2 separate regions of the Homo sapiens genome follow, and region 1 is linked to region 2. Evidence: promoter capture Hi-C in 16 types of primary human blood cells and fetal thymus (Javierre and others, 2016). All regions are on one chromosome and are shown on one strand. Each heading gives the region's core, a stretch centred on a gene start or on the middle of the fragment in contact. The rest is flanking DNA. Distances are from core to core; before and after follow the strand shown. Region 1 overlaps ZC3H3 (zinc finger CCCH-type containing 3). Region 2 holds the start of ZNF696 (zinc finger protein 696).

The links. The method cuts DNA at HindIII sites, captures the fragments that hold promoters and counts their contacts. A CHiCAGO score of 5 or more calls a contact.
Region 1: a fragment that was not itself captured here is called in contact with the fragment with the promoter of ZNF696 in region 2 in 1 of 17 cell types (M1 macrophages); the score reaches 5.6 in M1 macrophages.

The regions. Positions count from the first base shown.
Region 1 is chr8:143,482,876-143,486,410 of GRCh38, forward strand. All of the region lies in intron 4 of ZC3H3 (zinc finger CCCH-type containing 3), which reads right to left. Among named protein-coding and RNA genes, the nearest start is that of SNORD149, 22 kb to the right of the region's middle. The HindIII fragment of the contact is 1,138 bases long and covers 1,576-2,713 here.
Region 2 is chr8:143,289,932-143,293,372 of GRCh38, forward strand. ZNF696 (zinc finger protein 696) reads left to right here and starts at 1,486. Exons shown (of 3, transcript NM_030895.3): 1 at 1,486-1,836; 2 at 3,041-3,134. The coding sequence starts at 3,071. RefSeq lists an enhancer at 975-1,550 and a silencer at 1,021-1,740. The HindIII fragment of the contact is 14,284 bases long and covers 1-3,441 here.

The sequences.
Region 1 (3,535 bases), core at 895-3,394, 190 kb after region 2:
AGCCAGAAGAGGCAGGACCACAGGAGCAGGTACCGGGCCACGGGGACACGACCTCAGGGCCTTCTAGGCCGGGGTTGTGTCTGTGTGTGGGCCGGGGACCCAGCAGCCCCTGGCCAGGCCGCCCAGGCCAGTGGCAACGTGCAGTAAACAGGCAGTCCAGCTGAGACACAGAGAAAACAACCGGAGAAGCATTTTCAGGAAATGGAGCACAATTTTTCGAAGCTTGGAGCCCGAGCGGGGAGTGCGAAGTCAGCAGAAGAGGAGCGGCCGGGGGGAGGCGGCGCCGCAGCGAATCCCCAAGTAGGTCAGGCAGAGCTGCGCCATGACAGGCACTAAACTGCTTAAGTGGGGCTTTCCACTGGAAACGCTGACACCCCCATCACCGTGCTGGCTCGGGAGGGCGAGCATGCATGTGTGTCCATGCGTGTGCGCGTGTGGGGCTGGCTGGAAGCCTCCCTCCCGGTTTCTCCTGGTGCTGAGCCACTGCGGCCCCCGAATGGGTTGGCCAGGCTACATGGGGCCCTTGGCTGGAGAGGCCCAGCCCGTGAGGCTGGGGCAATGCAGGGGAGGTGGTTCTACTGGACAGACACTCACAGAATGTCCTGAGTTCCGGAGGAGGAAGACAGAGTCCCTCATGGGAGGGGCCCAAGCTGGGCCGGCAGGGAGGGGCGCTCAGGCCAGACAGAGCAGAGGCGTGCAGTGGGGGTGCTAGGCGGGCTCCCGGCTCCTGGACCCTGCCCCCACGATCTCAGGGGCAGGGCTAAATGCTCAAGGGCCTGTGGCTGCCAGGGCTGAAATCTGACTACGTGGTGGCCACGCAGGCCTCACGATGGCTATGGCCACCTCATCTCACAGAAAGAACCCTCTTCTAACTTACTCCTCACAAGTCTGGCCCCCTATCCTCCAAACCCCTATACCCAGACCGTGGGGCCCTCACCAGCTCCAAGGGGCCTCCAGGTACCTGGGGCAGTAGCTGCTGTTCAGCAGGGGCTCCGGCACCATGGCCAGATGGGCTCTCTAGTCCCGCTGTCACCCCCACAGCATCTACCTCCCAGTATGGGGGCCTGCAGAGACCGTCCAGCCGCTTGGCTTTCCAGGATACACCTTCAGCAGGCAGGCAGGGTTACAGGCCTGGGTGGGAGCTGAGAGCCCTGCACCAGCGGCCAGGGGCGCCATGAGGGGAAAGAGCCATGCAGCCTTAGGGACAGCAGCCTTGTTTGGGGGCCCCTGAGGACAGGGACAGCCTTGAGTGCGACTGGTCCAGCTGAGGCTGAGCACGGCTGGCTCCCCCGGCCCCTGGGCTGACTCGTGGGGTGGAGGCTCTGTTGTGACATCTGAGGACTTCCTCACTGGGCACTGGTCCTTCCGAGGGCCATCCCTGCCCCGTCTCACCCCAGTAATGAATAAGAAGGATTCGGAGGCGCCTCTGCAGCCTGGCTGGGTGGCAGGGGGCAATACTAATGACACTGCCTCCGTTACAAACGTCGTGCTCCATTATGAGGGGCTGGGACTATTTTATGTATTTTATGTGCTCACATCTATTCAATTGGTATTTCGATCAATGGATGCATTACAAGCTTTCCCTTTAAGAGCCTAATAAACAACAAGATGGAAAGTAAAATTCTCCATAAAATGACACTTTTAAAAATCCATTTCAGCTGAAGCTATTGGTGTTTTGTATGTCAGCTGCAAAAAAACAAGTATTAGTGGGACTTCATGGCCCCGGAGTGCCGAGTTCAGCTCGTCCGGCAGAGGTGCCAGGCGGCCAGGTGCAGCTGTCCTTGGCGGGCCCGCGACCCTCTGCACCTGTGCCACCCTTTGGGCTGGGTCATCGGCCCAGGACCCACTCTGTCTGTGCCAGCTACTGAGGGGCAGGCTGGCCAGGAATCCTGCCTAGGCCCTCAAGGACCCCTCAGGTCACTGCTGTCTAAAGAGACTCACAGCAGACATCCCCCCACTCCCAGGCCCTGGGACAGCCCCTCCGAAGACCACACAGCAAATCCGGCTCAGCTCCCTGGAAAGGCGTGGTGACCTCAGCAAACTTCATGCGGCCCTTGCAAGGACAGTGGTATCTGCAAAAACCACGGGAAAACCACAATAAAAACCCACTCACTTCAGAGGGGTAACCAGAACTGATTATGAAGCAAAGATGTGTGAAAACCAAAGCCCTGCAAGACAGTGGCAAACACCAGTTGGAACATACAAAGAAGAGAAGCCAGAAACACTCTCAAATAACTGAGGAAAAATTCTACAGCAGGGGCGCCGGGCCAACATGTGGAAGTTATGGAGCATGAGTCCCCCTGGTGCTGAGAACAGGAGGGAGGCAGGCGGGGCCAGGGATCTGAAGTGTTTGTTGTGTGTGTGGCTGAAATCCTAAGAAGAAGAAAATGCAAATCTATGATTTGGAGGCTGGTTCCTTGGTGAGGCCGAGAACCCGGTCCAGTGTTTCTAAGGTGGTCTGGAAGAGTAAGCATTCAGGAATAACGAAGGGCACAGACAAGTGGGTCAACAGTGAGGATGGAGAGTCTGGGAACAGCCCATACATCTGCTCACCCGAGTGACGCAGGCGCCCCTGCACCTGAGTGGGTCAGGATCTCATTTCAATACATGTGTCTCCATGGGGAGACAAAAGGACTCTGGCCCCTACCTCAGACCACAGGTAAAAATTAATTCAAGAAGCCTCAGGCTTAAAATATAAAAGCTAAAATAGCCAAGCTTCTAGAAGAAAACATGAATGTGGGATAGACAAATATTTCTTAAACAGGACACAAAGAGCACTACTCATAAAAGGCTAAAAAACCAGATGCCGTGGAAGAGCAGGTCCCTCGCTGTAAGCAGACGTGTGGGGCGGAAAACATCCACAACAAAAACAAACTCCCACAAATCAGCCAAAAGGCAAATCACACAAAAACAGGCCAACACCCAAAGAGGCCCTTTACAGTAAAGAAGGGCACCACCAGGAGACCTGAGTGAAGAAAAAGATGCCCAGCAATGCCAGCCAGCGGGATGGGCGTGAGGCCCCACACCCCCCAGCATGGCAAGAACAGGAGACACGGGCCTGAGAATCCTGGCCAAGGCCACGGGCCAGCCACAATGCTCACATGCTGCTGCTGGCAGGCTGGGACAGCTACCTGGGACAGCTTCCAAAGCTCAGTGTCCATCACCCTCTGAGGCAGCAACTCCACACAAACGAGGGCTACCAGCACCCAGAGACACACCCAAGACAGCAGCTTCATAACTGGCAAGGATGGGAGAGACTCCAGATACCCACCCATCAACTGCAAGATGGACACACATGGCGTATCCATATCACAGAACACCACACGGCAGGGAAAAAGAATGAGTTCCCGCCAGGCGCGGCAATGTAGCGGAGTGAGAAACGTGGGCGCCTACGGCTGCCTGGCTGCTGCCATGGAATGCTCTGCAGTGGGCGGCTACGACAACAGAAACACACTTTCTCACAAGGCTGGGGCCGCACCGAGGCTCTGGCAAGGCTGGTTTCTGGTGAGGTCTCCCTTCCTGGCTTGTACTGTCC
Region 2 (3,441 bases), core at 236-2,735:
TCAGAAGACCCACGACGTTCCACTGGGATGCAGAGGGAAACGGTTACTTGTACTTCTACATCATCTCTTTTAGATGTGTGTGTGTGTGGTGTGTGTTGTTGTTGTTGTTTTTGTTTTGCGACAGAATCTCTGTCACCCAGGCTGGAGTGCAGTGCCAATCTCGGCTCACTGCAGCCTCCGCCTCCCGAGCTCAAGTGGTCCCCCCGCCTCAGCCTCCCGAGTAGCTGGTACCACAGGCGCCGGCCACCACGCCCGGCTAATTTTTAAAAAAAATTTTTAGTCGACACGGTTCTAACTATGTTGCTCAGGCTGGTCTGAAACTCCTGGACTCAAACAATCCTCCTGCCTTGGCCTCCCAAAGTGCTGGGATTACATTCATGAGCCTCTCGCCCACCCAGTCTAAGTGTTTTAATTTTTATCTTTTACAACAGCTTCTAATTTGTTACAAATAAACGTGCAGCATGTGGTGGGAGTGTTCAGGTGTTTACTGGTGCAGTGCGCAATGAACGCGGTTCCAGGCACGAGATGTGGAGGCCCAGAGGCAGATGCCGGGTGGCGGCGGCGCGGGACTGTCGGAGGCGCGGGCAGGGACCTGGGCTCCCAAGGCTGTGGCCCTCCCGCCCCAGTCCAGGGTCCAGTTCCAGGGGCGCGTCTGGCCCTCTGTTGCTGTCTTCTTAGGGTTCTCTCATGGGAATCGGTTCTTCAGCCTTTCTTTTCTCCCCAGAGAGGGTCTGTCTACTCGTTGTAAGAGGGAACAAGTCCACATTGCAGCTGTACACTTTGCACCCATGATGAAAAGCGTCACTTTTGCAGCATTCCAGCTGGAGATGCGTGACCTTCGGTCTGCGGCAGGCGGAAGGGCGAGAGACTTGGACAGGAGGTGCATCTTGCCCGGGGAAGGCTGAACGAATGAGAGCTCGGTCCCTGGTGAGAAAGAGCCCAGAGCCCGCGAGAGGCGGGCAGCAAGGGCTTCTCTGCAGCGGAGACGCGAGGGCGGCGTCCTGCAGGGAGGCGGGGGGCAGCGCCTGGGGCGCTCCAAGCTCTCGGCCCCAAGGAAGCCCACGCTCGGGACCCGCGTGCTGCCACAGCCCCGGGGGCCTGGAGGGTCCCGTGAGCCGAGCGGGACCCGGGACAAGCGCGGGACGCCGCGGGGAACGGACGGGAACGCGCGTGGCCGCCCCACAGCGGGCCTTCGACACCTCCTGACACGTCCTGCGGGTGCCCGGTCCTCAGTTGGCTCGAGCCGGATCCCGGCGCGCCAACGGCTCGACCTTGCCCCCCACGAGGCAGGGCTTCCTGCCCGGCAGGAAGGACTCGGCCGGCGCCTGCGGGCAACCGATGAGCTGAAGGCGCCGCGGCTGGGCCGTCCCGCTCTCCCGCCGCCGAGCGCGCTGTCCTCCCGCTGCCCAGAGCGTCGCCGGAAGTGCCGAGGGGGCGGGCCAGGGGTGGAGACTGGCGTTTCCGGCGCGCGACGGGGCGGGGACCGTAGCGGGTGCAGTCCAGCTGCTCTGGACGCTGAGGCCCCGGCTTCTCTTGCTGGGGTGTCGATTCGGGAGGGCTGAGGGCGCGGCCGAGAGAACGGGGCGGTCACCGCCGCCGTGGCCCGCGCGTCCCGCGCTCTCCTTGCAGTGCAGGCCCCAGCCGCTCTCGGGCGCGGCGTGGGGGAGGCGGCCCTGCAGGTGCGTACCCGGGGTCCGACACGTGCGGGGCTTCCTGCGAGCTGAGTCCCCGCTGCGCGTCTTCAGGCCTTTGTAAGTTGTCAAATTTCCCACCGGCCCAGCTCATCGAGCTTCTTCCCAGCTGTGAACAGGAGGGCCTGTTCCCTAATTCTTGCCGGTAAGGTACTTGCAAAAATCTGCTTCCAGACTAAAAAATTGCACTTTAAATTACCTTTTTGTAAAAGCGGCGGGGTCTCGCTATGTTTCCCAGGCTGGCCTCCTACTCCTGGGCTCAAGCGATCCTCCCGCTCAGCCTCCCTGGCAGGCGGGATTACAGGCGGCTTAAATTAAATTTACTAATTAATCACTTTATTTACTTATTTTTTTAAGACAGGGTCTCACTCCAACGCCCAGCTGGAGTGCAGTGGCGAAATCTCGGTTCACCCCAGCCTAGACCTCCTGGGCTCAGGCAGTCCTCCCACCTCAGCCTCCCTAGTAGCTGGGACTACAGACGCCCACCATCACACCTGGCTAATTTTTTGATTTTTTGTAGAGACGGGGTCTCACTATGTTGCCCAGGCTGGTCAGGAACTCTTGTAATCAGTCAGTCCTCCATCCTGAGCCTTTTGAAGTGCTAGGATTACAACTGTGAGCCACAGCACCCAGCCAAATTACATTTCTTAATTGCACTTGAGGTGAGACCTAAAAAAATGTATTGCCTACTGGTTTTTCTTCTTTGTGAGTTACCTATTCATGATCTTTGCCAATTTTCCTTCCTTTCTCATTAATATATAGAGGTCTTTATCAGATAGGGATGAATCTTTGCATTGCACGTATTCCTCCCTTTTTGGTTTTTTTTTTTTACATTAAATTTTTTTATGTAGTTGAATTTGTCAGACATCTGATGTCAGGCTTAGAAAAATCATTCCTCATTCCAAAACTTTACCATTCAAATAAGTTGTTCTTTTCTTCTGGTTTAACATTTTTATATTCAAATCCTTATAACTACCAAGAAAATTTTAAAACCCATGGGAATTTCTCTAGACATTTGAAGACTGCTGGAGGGCGCGGGCTTCCTCAGCATGGAGCTAGGAAGCTGTGGCCACGCCCACCTGTGCTCTGCGTCAGCCCTGGGTGGAGGGGGACCCGCAGAGCCTGGACCAGAGTTCCTGGGCATCCCACAGAACAGAACACCCGCTTCTGGGAGTGTCTGTTGAGCCAGGACCTTGATTGCTAGTGACAGGAGTGGGCCCAGCTGGGTGATGCAGCTCCCACAGGGCCTGTTCTGACAGTTTCCTCTGAAGGCATTCTGACCTCACTGCCCCTGGCCCCTGTACCTAGCCCTGGCTGTGATTTATTTTCCTTTTCTTTTACCTAAGCAGAAATTGTTCCAACTGCTGGTGTTCTGCAAGATGGAGCCAGGAGGAGAGCCCACAGGTGCTAAAGAGAGCAGTACCCTGATGGAGTCCCTTGCAGGTGAGGGGACATGTCCACAGTCGGGCCCAGAGTTCCAGGGCAGGAATTGAACAGGAATACAGGAAAAACACCATGTCTCAGTCACTGACGCAGAGCATATACTGTGTCCTTGGGCGCAGGGTGAGGGAGGGAGGTAAACGCAGGCCCATCAGATCTCCTGGGCATCTGTTTGGTGACTGTCTTTGCCAGTGAACTGAGAGCTTTTGGTTAGAAAGTCTGGCAGCCCCAGGCTCTGCCTCTGGGAAGGTCTCTCTCTCAGTGCTTCTCCACCTTGGCACCGTGGCTGTTTTGGAATGGACGAGTCTTT